Linked DNA regions of Homo sapiens: all the other regions are linked to region 4. The links are contacts of gene promoters, found by promoter capture Hi-C in human tissues and cell types (Jung and others, 2019). All regions are on one chromosome and are shown on one strand. Each heading gives the region's core, a stretch centred on a gene start or on the middle of the fragment in contact. The rest is flanking DNA. Distances are from core to core; before and after follow the strand shown.

Evidence for each region. Contacts are between HindIII fragments. The study calls those that stand out against the background at their distance.
Region 1: a contact is called between the fragment with the promoter of NFIC here and the fragment with the promoter of LINGO3 in region 4, in 1 of the 25 tissues and cell types used here (stomach).
Region 2: a contact is called between the fragment with the promoter of FSTL3 here and the fragment with the promoter of LINGO3 in region 4, in 1 of the 25 tissues and cell types used here (heart left ventricle).
Region 3: a contact is called between the fragment with the promoter of GIPC3 here and the fragment with the promoter of LINGO3 in region 4, in 1 of the 25 tissues and cell types used here (aorta).

Annotation. Positions count from the first base shown.
Region 1 is chr19:3,364,911-3,368,264 of GRCh38, reverse strand. NFIC (nuclear factor I C) reads right to left here and starts at 1,682. Exons shown (of 11, transcript NM_001245002.2): 1 at 1,599-1,682. The coding sequence starts at 1,628. RefSeq lists silencers at 674-1,073, 1,364-1,513, 1,964-2,053. The HindIII fragment of the contact is 27,364 bases long and covers 1-3,354 here.
Region 2 is chr19:674,805-677,998 of GRCh38, reverse strand. It overlaps FSTL3 (follistatin like 3), which reads right to left and starts at 1,607. Exons shown (of 5, transcript NM_005860.3): 1 at 1,473-1,607; 2 at 22-207. The coding sequence starts at 1,575. The HindIII fragment of the contact is 14,894 bases long and covers 1-3,194 here.
Region 3 is chr19:3,583,395-3,586,914 of GRCh38, reverse strand. GIPC3 (GIPC PDZ domain containing family member 3) reads right to left here and starts at 1,437. Exons shown (of 6, transcript NM_133261.3): 1 at 1,093-1,437; 2 at 235-420; 3 at 1-101. The coding sequence starts at 1,317. The HindIII fragment of the contact is 10,668 bases long and covers 1-3,520 here.
Region 4 is chr19:2,306,125-2,309,619 of GRCh38, reverse strand. It overlaps LINGO3 (leucine rich repeat and Ig domain containing 3), which reads left to right and starts at 1,466. Exons shown (of 2, transcript NM_001101391.3): 1 at 1,466-1,544. The HindIII fragment of the contact is 18,961 bases long and covers 1-3,495 here.

The DNA of each region.
Region 1 (3,354 bases), core at 433-2,932, 1.1 Mb before region 4:
CAGCCTGGAACAGCCTCCCCTCCGCTCAGCCCTCCCAAATGGCTCCTTCCAGCTGGTGAGGACAGAGCGGGGACACCTCAGTCACCCCACAAGCCCAGAGACTTCAAAGGCTGCCCGAGGTCACACAGCGTGCCCACTCGAACCCTAGTTGTTCTTGGAGAACTTCAAAGAGATGCCTTCTTCGGGAACCCCCCCCCCAAAGCTGCTCAGAAAGGGAAACTGAGGCTGGGACAGGGACTTACCCAAGGTCACTCAGGGGATCACAGGTAGGACAGACCTCAGACCCCCTCAGCACCAGCTCCCACATTCCCTGTCGGCTGCAGGGGGCCGGTGAGAAAGACCCTACCAAGGAGCATGCCTGGCGTGGGGGGTCCCTCACTGCACCATGCCCTGGAGCGGAAGCCGGGGACTCATATACTCCCCACACAGTGCTTCTTAAGACGGGCCTGGCCCTCGCTGGAATCGCACCCCCCACGTGCCGGGACTTTACAGTTTGCCCGCCATACTGTCCCCTCTCCAGAACCGGCCTTAGCCGCACCTCACTTCAGGGGAAACTGAGGCCAGAACCTCTCCAGCCTAAAGACACACTGCGTAAGGAGGAAAGCAGCGGTCTAGAAAACGGAACTTGCAGACCTCGGGGTCCCCGGGAGCCTGGGCTGGAAGGAGTCCCCGGGGGGAGCCGCCCCCTCCCCACACACCCCCTCGGCCATTGCACAAGGCTCGGCCCCGGGGCAGTCTGGGAGTGCGGCCAGGGGTGAGAGGCTACGGGAGGGGGAGGGGGAGGGGGAGGGGACGGGGCAGGTGCCGGGCTGGCGAGGGCGTCCGCAGCGCCGCAGTGCCCGGGCCAGACCCGGAGCGCCGGGCCTCCCGCTCCTCCCGGCGGCGGCTCCAGAATCCAGAATCCAGAATCCAGAATCGATGCAGCGAAAATACCGGGACGGTGCTGGGGGGCTTGCAAAGGAGGGGGGACCCAGCCGGGCCGCCGGAGCACCCTTCCCCCTCCTGGGCCTCCAACTTCTCCTGCCCCCTCCCCCTCCATGCACACGTGGGCCAATAACGAGGGAAAGGCGACCGAGGGCCAGGGCGGCCCGCACAACCTTGGTGGGGGGACACGGGGAAAACACATGAGAGGTCCCTTTCTCTCCAGCTGGGGAGACCCAGGGTCCAATCACGACCCCCTAGATTCCTCTCAGAGGCAGGCGGGGGGCTTCCCGCAGAGCCCTTGCTGGAGGGGGGCCAGCCCCCACCCCGACCTTTCCGAGTGTCGGGGCGGGGGTGCGGAGTGCGTCGGTGTGTGGGGGGGGGACGCAAATCTGCAGACCAAGCCCCACATCCGGGAGAGGTCCCGAGAGTCGGGGTTGGGGGTGCTGGGCGGGAGTCCCGCGTAGGGGGTCCGCGGTAGGTAAGGGTGTGGGGGGGGTACCCCAGCCTGACCCATCCCCCCACCGGACCCCAGCCCTCGGCGCGGGGGGCATCCCGGGCAGGGATGGCGGGAGGGACGCGCGCCTTTTTCGTCCCGCCTCCTCCTGCTTCAAAACTCCGGGGCTGGGATGCGGGGGGCGCGGGGGCGCCGGCGGGGGGCCGGGCGAGGACCGTACCTGGGTGAGGCAGAGCGGGGACGAATACATCCCGGGCGCGGCGGGAGGCGCAGGGCCGGCCGGAGCGGGCGCGCTGAACTTACTGAGTCATTTTTCCAAACCACCCCCCCGCCCCCCCCAACCCCCCCCCCCGCCCCGCGGCCGGCGCGCTCTCCTCGCCGCCTCCTCCCTCGGTCTCCCTCCTCCTCCCTCCTGCTCTCCCTCTCTCGCGCCGCCCGCCTCGCTCTCTGTCCCTCTCTCCCTCCGTCTCTCTCTTCCTCTCTCCCCCGTCTCTGTCTCTCTGTCTCTCTCTCTACCCTCTGACACCCTCCCCCTCCCACCCCGAACCTCCCACTTCTCAACACCCAACTTTCAAAGAAACGAGGGAAAAAAGGGCGCGAGCGAGAAAGGAGAGCCTCCCCCGACGTCTCAGGACCCCCCCGCTCCTCCCGTATTTACGCAATGCCCCAGGGCACTAGACCAGGACCCCAGGACTGCAGGGCGACCCCAATTCGGATCAAGCGGAGAGGGGGGACAGGGTTGTTTCTGGACATTGAGGGGCCAGGGGTGGATTTTTAAGGCCCCCCCTCCCCACCCCCCCATCACCCCCGAGCTGGCCGGGAAGTTGGAGGAAAGAGCCAGGGGGGAGGGAAGGAATGAAGAAGTGACGTGCGCAGAGGCCGGCCAGCGCGCCTCTTTCCCCTTAAAGATGTACGACCCTGGGTGCACGGTGAGCTGGTCCCACAGCACCCTGGCTCCCTTCTCCCCCCAGAGCCAGGCAGGGGCTGCGGGTCCCCAGCTAGAGGGGCTTGTGTGCAGCTGTCCCTTCCTTGGCCAGAAGGGCCCAGGCTAACACGGGAGGCTCCAGAATTTGCTCTCTTCACCCAGCACCCAAGGGGCAGGGGAGGGGTGGCCTCGCCTGTGTGTCTCTCCAGCACCCCAGGAGGACGGTGTCCAGGCGGGATCTCCAGCTGGCCAGATAAACCCTTGCAGCCTCCCCCTGGGTATCCAATAATTTCCACCTGCCTCAGGGGTGTGCCCTTTTCACAGATCTCAAGACTGAGGTATGGCAAGTGTGGCTTGGAGCCAGGCCATCTGGACCTGGAGCCCACATTCTGTTCTCCTTCTAGACGTAACAGGGCAGAGACCTGGCCTGCCTCCGTCTGAGCCCCCAGGGCATCTGATGACAGGGCCCCAACCCTCCCCCGGTTCACTCCCTGGATCCTCCCAGGCTAGCTCAGAGGCTGCTGTGTCTCTCATTCCCATCCCAAGGGTTCTCCCCTATAAAGTGGCTTAAAGATGCCCATCCTGTGGGATTGCTGGGGATAAGGACAATGACCTTAGCAGAGCCTTGACCTTGGGTCAAATGTTCACTAAAGACACATTCTTAGAAAGCTTGGCCATTTCACCTCATCTCTCTGAGCTTCCCAAGGACAAATGATACCCTCTCACCAAGCTGGGGCAGGTGCCCCAGGCCCAGGGGCGCAGAAGATACCAGCACCCATTATCCTCAGGCATTACAGGAGAGGAAACTGAGGCCCAGAGAACGGAAGCCACTTGCCCAGGGTCTGACAGGTAAACTAGGAGGGAGCAGAATTCCTGCAGCGTAGGTTCCCTAGGCCCCCCACAGGCTCCCCTCTGCATGACGGTGACATTATTCAAACAGTGCTTAGTACATCACGAACGGTCCATAAATGTGTGTGTCTGTGTATTTTAAACCCACTGTGCAGCTGTGGGGAGCATTTGAATTAAATGGTGAGAAGTGTATCTGGAAATC
Region 2 (3,194 bases), core at 358-2,857, 1.6 Mb after region 4:
GCTTCTGGCCTGAGGTCTCACCTTTGCAGGGAAGGCAGTGGACAAGGCCCAAGAAGCCGAGGAGGTTGATCTTGTTCCCCGGGTGGGTGAGGTTGGACCAGGCGGTGTCAATGTTGCCGGAGGCACAGCACTCGGCCCGGGTGACATCAGTCTGGAGCACCAGGCTGCAGGTGGCCTCCTGGCCCTGCTGGAGCCAGCAAACACCACCTGCGGGCCGGGGAACGGGGTGCTCTCCTGGGCCACTCCTGACACCCAGCTTCTGGCCCGCCCACAGATGCATGCAGGTGGTGCTGAGTAGTTACGCACGGAATGATCTACCCCCACCCAGGAAGAAGGGGCAGAAAACCACATGGGTGTCCCCACCCTGGCTCCAGAACCCTGGAAATGTCTCCTCCCCTCTGAGCTCCACGTGCCCCCCCCCACAGCCTCACCACCAACCCCCACCCACCCCAGGAGGTCCCTTCCCGTACCCTCCAAGCCCCCAGGCCAGGGGCTGGCACCCTGCCCAACCCCTCAAACACCACCAAACACCAGGCACTGGGCATGTCAGGGTCAGCAGGCCCTGGAGCCGCTTCTCCCGCCTCTGCCCTCTGTCTAGACAGCACCCGAGGGCGAGGGCACGCGGAGCCCCGCGCCTGGCAGCCCCCCCACCGCCTGGCCCGCCTCTTACTCACTCCAACTTGGGAACATTCCCCTTGCATGAGCTCACTGTCTCCCCAGGGACGTGGCCTTCGGGGAGGGGGCTCTGCTCTCCCTTTGGCGCAGGGCTGGGGTGGGGTGGGGCTGCAGGGATGGGGGGTGGGGAGCCAGAGAGCCCCCCATTTCTTCCCCCGTCCCTGGGGGCAGGAACGGCCACAGCCCCCATCCCAGAGCGCTTGCTGGTTCACAGACACTGCCAGGGACCAGCTTGTGGAACGCAGCACCTTGGCACCCATCATAGGAGGGGAAACTGAGGCCAGGAGTGGGGCCGTCTCCTGCCTGGCACCTCCCGGCAAGTCCCAGGTGTGAGACTCCATGCCCCGTCTACCCAGGACCCGGGAAAGCTCTCAGCCCCAGCTGGAGGGCCTGGCTCCCGACACCCAGCACTACCTCTCGGCACCAGGACCGACCCGGACGGTCGCGGCTAGAACCCTGGCTTTGCCTGCTACAGGCTGTGTGACCCTGAGCCTCAGTTTCCCCATCTGGAAGACGGAGATGAAGAGAGCTCCGGCACTATCGGGATGGCACAGGTTCAGGGAGGGGAGAGGTAGACACTAAGCGCTCAATAAATGTCAGCGGTCATTGTGATTAGAAACCTCTGCTCTGCTGACCTCTTGGTGACCCTCCTTCAGACCTTCCCGGCTCCAGCTTGCGCCGGACACCGCCCTCGCCCCCGCCGCCGCCGCCGCGCCCCCCGACGTCCCCCCGGCCGCATTCCGCGCAGCCCCACGTGGGTGGCCCGCCCCGCCCGCCCCTCTGGCCGCCCCACTCACCGGGCGCGGGGTTCCCCGAGCCCATGGAGCTCACGAAGCCCACGGCCCAAGCCAGGGCCCCCCAGGGCAGAGGCCAGAGTGGCCCTGGCGCCCCGGGACGCATGGCGAACGCAGAGACGGCAGCGGCACCGACTTCCCAGCGCGCGGCCGGCGCTCCCTATAAAGGTCCCGCGGGCCGCGGGCGGGGCGGGGCGCGGGGCGGGGCGCGGCGCGGGAGTGGCGGGGGCGAGGCCGTGTCCCGCGCGGGGTGGGCAGGCGCCGGGCCCGGCCGCTGCGGGGGGCAGTTGGGGGCGAGCGCCCGGGTCCCCTTCCGGAGCCAGAGAATGCATTTGGGGAGATGTGGCTGGACCCAGGGCGGAACCGGGACAGGGGTGTGGGTTCGAGGTGGTGGCAGCCTTTTGGGTGGATCGAGGGGCCGTCTCCAGGAATTAAAGTGGGTTTGGGGGTCTTCAGTTTCAGGGGTGGCGGTGAGGTAACGGGGACCCAAGAGGAGCACGTCTGTGGATCCCTGCATCCCGTTTCTGTGATTTGCATGTGGTCACTTTCATGGTCCAAGTGTGGTCTGAGCCCCCCAACCCGGCCTCCTTGTTCCCGACCCGCCCCACACACCCAAAACCTCAGCTGGATATGGTTCCCTGCTCACAGCGCGGGCCGCGCACCCGTCCACCTGGCCGCTGGAGCCGGCCTGTGGGTGGGGAGTGGTTGGGTGTGGGACAGAACGGGGTGCGGCCGGGACAGACCCAGAGACACAGCTCCTTCCAGCATCTCGGACAACAGCAGGCCTCGCCCAGCCACGGCCCCCAGGGAGGCCACTGCGTGTGTGTGTGTGTGTGTGTGTGTGTGTGCGCGCGCACGCCTGGCCTTTGTCCTGGGCCCCTGGGCAGCTCTGCCCCATCAGCCCTCCAAGCCTTTGCAGACATTCCCCCAGATCACCTCAACAAGAATGTTTACTAGGTTTTTTCCTCTCCCTCCAAGATTCAGCAAACACTGTTTCCAGCAGAGGCGTTTCCAACAATGTATGACAGCGACATCTGCGTGGGCCTGGAGGCGCTGCGCCCGAGGGGGCTTTCGTGCAGCCAGACACATTTCCTACTCTGGAGCTGATTCTGTCATGGGGGCCTCCAGATTTGTCAGGCGCCCTTGGCGAGCGCAGGGGAGCCCCTCTGTTCCTGCTTCTAGGGCATCAGTGAACATCTCTTTTGGCCAGAGGGACCCTGCGGGGTGCTGGGGTGCCACGGTGACCAAGGCAGACCCCATCACACCCTCACCGAGCTCCTGGTTTGGACAACAAAATGCAGAGACAAATTAATCTATAACTTCAAGGAGTGGTAAATGCTTTCAGGAAAATACAGAAGGTTGAGGTGGTGGAGAGCGGTTGGGTGTCTGCTGGGCATGCCTGTGTCTGGCCACTCGCTGTGCCGGCATTGCCCACCCCGCAGGTGGAAACGGACGTGTCCAGCAGCCCCACGGCACAGCCCCTTCTCTGGCCTGAGTGAGATCTGTGCCCACAGAAGACACACCTGTACCCTTTCCTCCACCTTAGCTGCCCAGCCTGTGTCCCCCAGCAGCCAGTGGCCAGGGGCCAAGTTCTGCCTTAGTGGCACTGAGGGGGGACACCCCGCCGTCTTGACCTGGCCTTGGCCTCTGGCATTTCCCCCGGGAATCTCCCCGGCTTGGGGAGCAGGGCAGGGACGGGACCCTGTATTCTCACTGAGGGGGGAC
Region 3 (3,520 bases), core at 188-2,687, 1.3 Mb before region 4:
TAGTGGCGGCAGCCCACAATGGAGTGGTCGTTGATGGCTTCGATGCTGTCACCCACGCACACTGCCTCGATCCGGTTGATGATACTGCCTTCCTTGATTCTCTGCAGGGATCCAGCGTCGCTGGCAGGGCAACCCCAGCCACCCGCCTCCAATCCGCAGAACCCACGTCGACCCAGAGTGGGGGGGGCAGTTGCTGGACCCCAGGAAGCCACCCGCCCACCCCCTCCCGGGCACCTTGATGAAGGCGTAGCCAGCCCCGTTGTCCGTGATGGTCAGCCCCAGAGCATCCTCTGTCTTAGTGACCTCCACCTCCTTGGTCTCGCCTCGCACGTGGGCAAAGATGAAGTCCTCCAGGCCTATCTGACCCCCCAGGAGCTTCTGCATGTCCACTTTGTGGCTGTTGAGGGTGCAGAATAAAATCTTCCCGGGGGAGAAGGAGCCTAGAGTTAGCCAGGGCATGCATCCCCCCACGCAGCCACCCTGTCTGCGCAGGCCCCTGCCCCCAGCGACCAGGATCCCAGCCCATGGGAAAGGGCAGGGCGTGGGACCCCCAGAACAGAGAGAGGAGGGAGAAGGAGACTTCCAGCAGGTGGAGACCCCTCTCCATACCCCGGGACCTCCAGCCCCCAGACCTCCAGGTTTAATCTGCTGGCGCCCCCTGGGGGCTGCAAACCAAACGAACCCGGATTGGAAAAACGCCCAGGAACCCCCCAACCCCACGGCGGCCTCAAACTTCCCATCCCTAAGGGGGCCATCTGGAACCCCAGACCCCAGCTACGCCCAGGAAGCACAGAGGCGCTTCCCCGAGGGCTGGGGTCCGCTCCAAGCTAGGTCTGCGCAGAGGATTTTCTGGAATATCTAGGGGTCCGCTAGTCCTAAGACCTGCCCATCTTTTGCGCAGAGCGTGCAAAGGGGGCCCCTGGGAGTGTGGCACCCCGGGATCTGAGGGCTGGGTCTCTGAGATCCGGCGATTAGGCGGCCACCCCGACGTCTGGGATCCGGGGATCTGGGGTCTCCCGTCCAGGGTCCAAGCTCCCTACCCCTCACCCCATCAGGCGGGTGGTCTTGGGCGCCGGTGTCCGGGCTCCTTACCTCGGTGGGCGCGATCCCGAAGGCTTCGGCGATCTTGGCGTACAGCTCGCGGACGTTGGTGAAGCCCTCGATCTTGCCCGTGGGGCTCCCGTGCGCCAGCTGCGTGCGGAAGACGAGGCGCGGGCGGGCGCGGGGCGCGGCCGGGGGCTCCGAGGGCGCGGGCGGGGGCGCAGACGCGCGCGGGGTCTCGGTCCCCCGGGCCTCCCGGGCCGCTGCTCCCTCCATGGCGGGAGAAGTTCGGCCACCCACCCGGGCCCTCGCCGCCGCCGCCGGATCCGCCGCTTCCTGCAGCCTCCCCTCCCCCGGCCCAGGGCGCGACAGCCGAGACGCCCGGGTAAGGGGATCTGGGAACCCGAGCCTCCCGGGAAGGCGACACCGCGGGGTGCGCAGGGGTGGGTCGGGCCCCAGGTGTCCGGGCCCTGCCAGGGCCAGCTGTGCCCTCCCCGGGGATACCCGCAGTCCGGGGGGGCCTGAGCTCAGGACCCTGGAAGAACAGGGACCACAAATAAGGACAGGGACAGGCCTGGAGCGGTGGCTCACGTCTGTAATTCCAGCACTTTGGGAGGCCGAAGCGGGCAGATGACCTGAGGTCAGGAGTTCAAGACTAGCCTGGCCAACATGGTGAAACCCCGTCTCTACCAAAAATACAAAAATCAGCCGGACGTGGTGGCGGGCGCCTGTAATCCCAGCTACTCGGGAGGCTGAGATCTCTTGAACCCGGGAGGCGGAGGTGGCAGTGAGCTGAGATGGCGCCATTACACTCCAGCCTGGGCAACAAAGCGAGACTCCGTCGCAAAAAAAAAAAAAAAAAAAAAAAAAAGGACAGGGACAGCTGAGGGTGCTGGAGCACTCACCCTCTGCTAGGCGAGGTCATTGTTTTATTTTATTTTATTATTTTTATTTATTTATTTATTTTGAGCTGGAGTCTCGCTCTGTCACCCAGTTTGGAGTTCAGTGGCACGATCTCAGCTCACTGCAACCTCTGCCCACCAGGTTCAAGCAATTCTCATGCCTCGGCCTCCCCAGTAGCTGGGATTACAGGCATATACCACCATGCCCGGCTAATTTTTTTGTATTTTTAATAGAGATGAGGTTTCACCATGTTGGCCAGGATGGTCTTGAACTCCTGACCTCAGGAATCCACCCACCTTAGCCTCCAAAAAAGCTGGGATTACAGGCATGAGCCACCACGCCCAGCCTTTGGTTTGTTTGTTTGATTTTGGAGACGGAGTCTAGCTCTGTCGCCCAGGCTGGAGTGCAATGGCGTGATCTCGGCTCACTGCAACCTCCACCTCCTGGGTTCAAGCGATTCTCCTGCCTCAGCCCCCCTAGTAGCTGGGATTATAGGCGCACACCACCATGCCTGGCTAATTTTTGTATTTTTTAGTAGAGACAGGGTTTCACCATGTTGGTCAGGCTTGTCTCGAACCCCTGACCTCAGGTGATCCACCTGCCTTGGCCTCCCAAAGTGCTGGGATTACAGGCGTGAACCACCGCACCCGGCCGCATTCAGTTTTTTAAAATTTAATTTAGAAACATGATTAATTTTTTGTACAGTTGGGATCTCACTGTGTTGCCCAGGCTGGTCTCAAACTCAAGACCAGGAGGTTCAGGCCATCCTTCAGCCTTGGCCTCCCAAAGTGCTAGGATTACAGATGTGAGCCACTGTGCCCAGCTTCTCTTCAGCATTTAAAGCTACCATCTGACATATCAGATATTTTATTTTATTTTATTTTTTGAGACGGAGTCTCTCTCTCTTGCCAAGGCTGGAGTGCAGTGGCACGATCTCGGCTCACTGCAACCTCTGCCTCCCGGGTTCAAGCGATTCTTCTGCCTCAGCCTCCTGATTAGTTGGGATTACAGGCACCTGCCACCATGCCCAGCTAATTTTTTTTGTATTTTTAGTAGAGACGGGGGTTTCACCATGTTGGCCAGGATGGTCTCGAACTCCTGACCTCAAGGAATCCTCCCGCCTCAGCCTCCCAAAATGTTGGGATTACAGGCTTGAGCCCCAGCCCCCTGCTGATATTTCATTTCATCTTTTGTCCTGTTTGTCCCCAGGACTGGAGGAATGTCAGCTCCAGGAGGGTGGGGGCTGTTCCCCTGCTCTGTCCCCATGCCCAGTGTCCAGGGCACAGTGCCTGGCATACAGCAGGTGCCCAGTGATCTTTGGTGAGGAATGAACGGATGTCCAGGTCACAGATGAAGGAGGAGACCCCAGGCACCAGGAGGCGTTGGTAAAAATCCGCTGGAGTGCAATGTCAGAAACACCTACGTATCCATCAGATTCCTACCCAGGAATGTCGGCTCAATAAACAGCCATCCTGCCTGCAGTGGCGGGCCCTACAGCAGAGCCAGTCACAGCCTCCGCCCAGGAGGAGCCTCACAAACTGAACATGGGGAGAGAAAAGAAAGTGGCAGGAGGGTT
Region 4 (3,495 bases), core at 217-2,716:
CTGTCATCCCAGCACTTTGGGAGGCCGAGGCGGGTGGATCACCTGAGGTCAGGAGTTCGAGACCAGCCTGGCCAACATGGTGAAACTCTATCTCCCCTAAAAATACAAAAATTAGCCAGGCATGGTCATGGGCGCCTGTAATCCCAGCTACTTGGGAGACTGAGACAGGAGAATCGCCTGAACCCGGGAGGTGGAAGTTGCAGTGAGCCAAGATTGCACCACTGCACTCCAGAATGGGTGACGAGAGCAAAACTCCATTTCAAAAAAAAAAAAAAAAAAAAAAGACAAAAAAAAAGGTAAAAAACTTTCCATGAGCACTCGCAGTGCACTTGGTGTGTGCGCTGCTGTGTGCTAGGCGGAAGGCACATTGGGGAACAAGCCCATTAGACAAACTGAGAGGCTCCAAGCTGCTCGATGGAGGGACAGAGAGAAAGGCTGTCCAAGCTGGGCACAGCGAAGATCAAAGGCCTGGGACTGGAGGGACTTGGCCTGTTTGAGGAAGGCTGAGGGGGTGGAGCCCGGGAAAGAGTGAGTGAGGACAGGCCAGGGGGAAGGAGGTGGTGCGGCAGACCAAACAGTGCAGGCAGCCGGGCGGTGGCTCACACCTGTCATCCCAGCACTTTGGGAGGCCGAGGTGGGTGGATCACCCGAGGTCAGGGGTTTGAGACCAGCCTGGCCAACATGCTGAAAATCCGTCTCTAATAAAAATACAAAAATTAGCCGGGCGTGGTGGCGGGTGCCTGTAATCCCAGCTACTTGGGAGGCTGAGGCAGGAGAATCGCTTGAACCCAGGAGGCGGAGGTTGCAGTGAGCCAAGATGGCACCGCTGTACTCCAGCCTGGGCAACAGAGCAAGACTCCATCTCAAAAAAAAAAAGAAAGAAAGAAAGAAAGAAAGAACGAAAGAAAGAGAAATTCCAGGGTAGGTGGGGTGCAGACGGGACCCTCACGGCAATAGGGAATCACGGCAGGTTCTGGAGCCCAGTGGCTAAGCTTCCTCTGAGGGGCTTCCTCTGAGGGCCACATAAGGAATGGGCCTGGGCTGGGCTGTGGCAGATGTCCAGGTGCAGATGGTGGCGGCCTGGACTAGGGGTGGGGGACGGGGGGCAGAGGAGGCGATGGTAGCTTCCAGAAGGTTCCACACGGAACAACCTGCTGCACTTGGGGTGCCCCTGCGTTTATTGCACGGCACGGCCGTCTCCGCAGGCTCACCCAGGCCGTGGGGACAGGAGGTCCTCGGACACGAAGCGCCCGGGATGCGCACGGAGGGGTTCTGCACCCGCGCTCCCAGTGTCCCCGCACCTGCGCCCACGTGGCCTCTCACACCTGCGGCCCCAGCCGCCGCGCACGCGGCCCAGCGCAGCCCCCGCGCGCCCCCGCCAGGCGCGCCGAGGAGACCGGCGGGCGGTTGCGCGCGGCGGCGGCGCGCACGGCGGAGCCCGGGAGGCGGCGGCGGCGGCGGCGGCGGCGGCGGCGGCTGCTCGTGTCGGCTCCGGGCGGCCCCCGCGCCGCAGCCCGCGCCGTGTCCGCGGCGGAGCCGCCCAGGTGAGTGGCCGTGCCGGGGCCCGGCGTGGGGCGCGCCCGCAGACCTGGGGACCCCTCACCTGCACCCTGCGACCCTGCCGCCCAAAGCCCCCAACCCGCGACCCCATCCTCAGCCGGGGGAAATTGCCCCGCGCACCCCTCCCGGGCTCATCGCTCCTTGCCAGGCCCCCGACGCTCCCCCTGGAAACTTTGGGGGCGAACTCCCCACCCTGGGGCCCCCCGCCCCTCCTCTGGGGCGCCAAGGAGCGGGGAATCGGGTGGGCATCTCCCCGGGGCACTGGGGACGCTGGGAGGATGCGCTCCTCTCCAGGAGGAGATGAAGGGGGCACTGGTTGGGTCTGGGGTGTGGGGAACGTCCGAATAGAGCCTGCAGCCCGCGCCTTCCTGCCCTGTCTCCCCCGAGCCGGGTCTGGTCCAGCCTGGGGGTGCGGAGCTGGAAGACGCAAAGGGTATCTGGGGTCCACACCGGAGCCTGCTCCATCGCTGGAGCTGACGGCCCGGCCTGGCGGGGAGGGACCTGGGGGCATAGGGCTGAGTCCCCCTGCTCTGGGGGCGTCTGAATAGCACCAGAAATGGTGGGCCTGGGCACCCTGAGTGGGTGCCGCCACCTCCCGGGCCTCTGGGGCCTGGCCAGGGGAGGCCCTGAGTCCCATTCAACAAGTTTAGGGGAGCAGCACCTCGTGCCTTGGTCCGGGCACAAGAAAAGCCCCGGGTCCTTACGCTGGAGACCACCATGTAACTGGGTTTCTCAACGTGTGCTTGGGGCGCTAACGGTGCCGGTGTCCCGGCCCCCCCAGTTCTGAGGAGTCAGAACTTCTGAGGCGATGTGCCCCAGAAGCTGCATTTTAGCAAGCGGTCCCTGGCTAAACCATGGACGCAGCGAGGCTGCAGACACCCTTGCTCCGGCGGGGGTGGGGAGCGGGCGTCTGCTGTGCAGTGGTATTTGCAGAGGGACGATCTGGGGCTTGGCTGGGGGGAGCCTTCAGGGACAACAGAGCTGTGAGAACCAGAGCAACCCAGGAGGGCTCCCTGGAAGTGGCCTGGAGAGGATGCAGAAGGTGTGAGGTGTGAGTGGTCAGGTGGAGGACGCAGGCTGGAAACAGGTTCAGGGAGGGTGGTGCTGGCTTTATCAGGAGGCTGGTGTGGGGTGGGCTGCCGCGGCATGGCCTTACCCTGGCTGTTCTCTGAGCCGAAGCAGCAGCCATCGTCGGAGACAGGATCTGAGTGGGAAGAACCCACGGGCTTCCCCTGTAGACCCAGCTCCTGTCCCCATCTCGATGATGTGGGGTGGCAGGAAGGGGGCAGCCGGGCGGTGGGATGGGGGCTTAGGAGGGTTCAACTCAGCCTTCCCTGCCCTGCCTGTCTGGTCTTCACCGGTGACTTCCGGCAAATGACGTCCCCTCTCTCAGATCCACCCCACATGGGATTAAATGAGATGCTGCCCACCTCGGCTGCAGTGTGGTGCCACCATAAAACAGATGCTCAGGTCACGATGGTTACGGCAGCAGCCCTGCCTGGCCTCCCTCAGCCTCAGCCGTCCACCCCCAGGGTAAGCCGGGACCTGAAGGTGCCTTGCTGAGTGGGAATAGAAGGCAGTTTGATGTCTCTTCCCACAGCACTGTCATTCCCCGGCGCCCCCTGAGTCACTACCTCGTCACCAGGTAGAGCCTCTTGAAGAACTCTGCGAGCAAAGTTGGCCCCGGGTGGGCCCCATCAAGCCGCCCACCACCACATGTCAATCTCGGGCCTCCAAAGAGCGCCCTTCACCCTCTAGTGGGGAGCTGGGATTTTGTGGGTAGGAGCTGGCGTCAGATCCAGGTTCAAATGCTGACTGTCTGCAGCTAAGTTGTGCAGTGAGCTGGGGCCCACTCTGACCCTCAGTCTCCTTCTCTCCAAAACGAACTTTATTATTCCCCCTAGTCAGGGCTGGGCTAGTGGGTGAAGTGGCCGG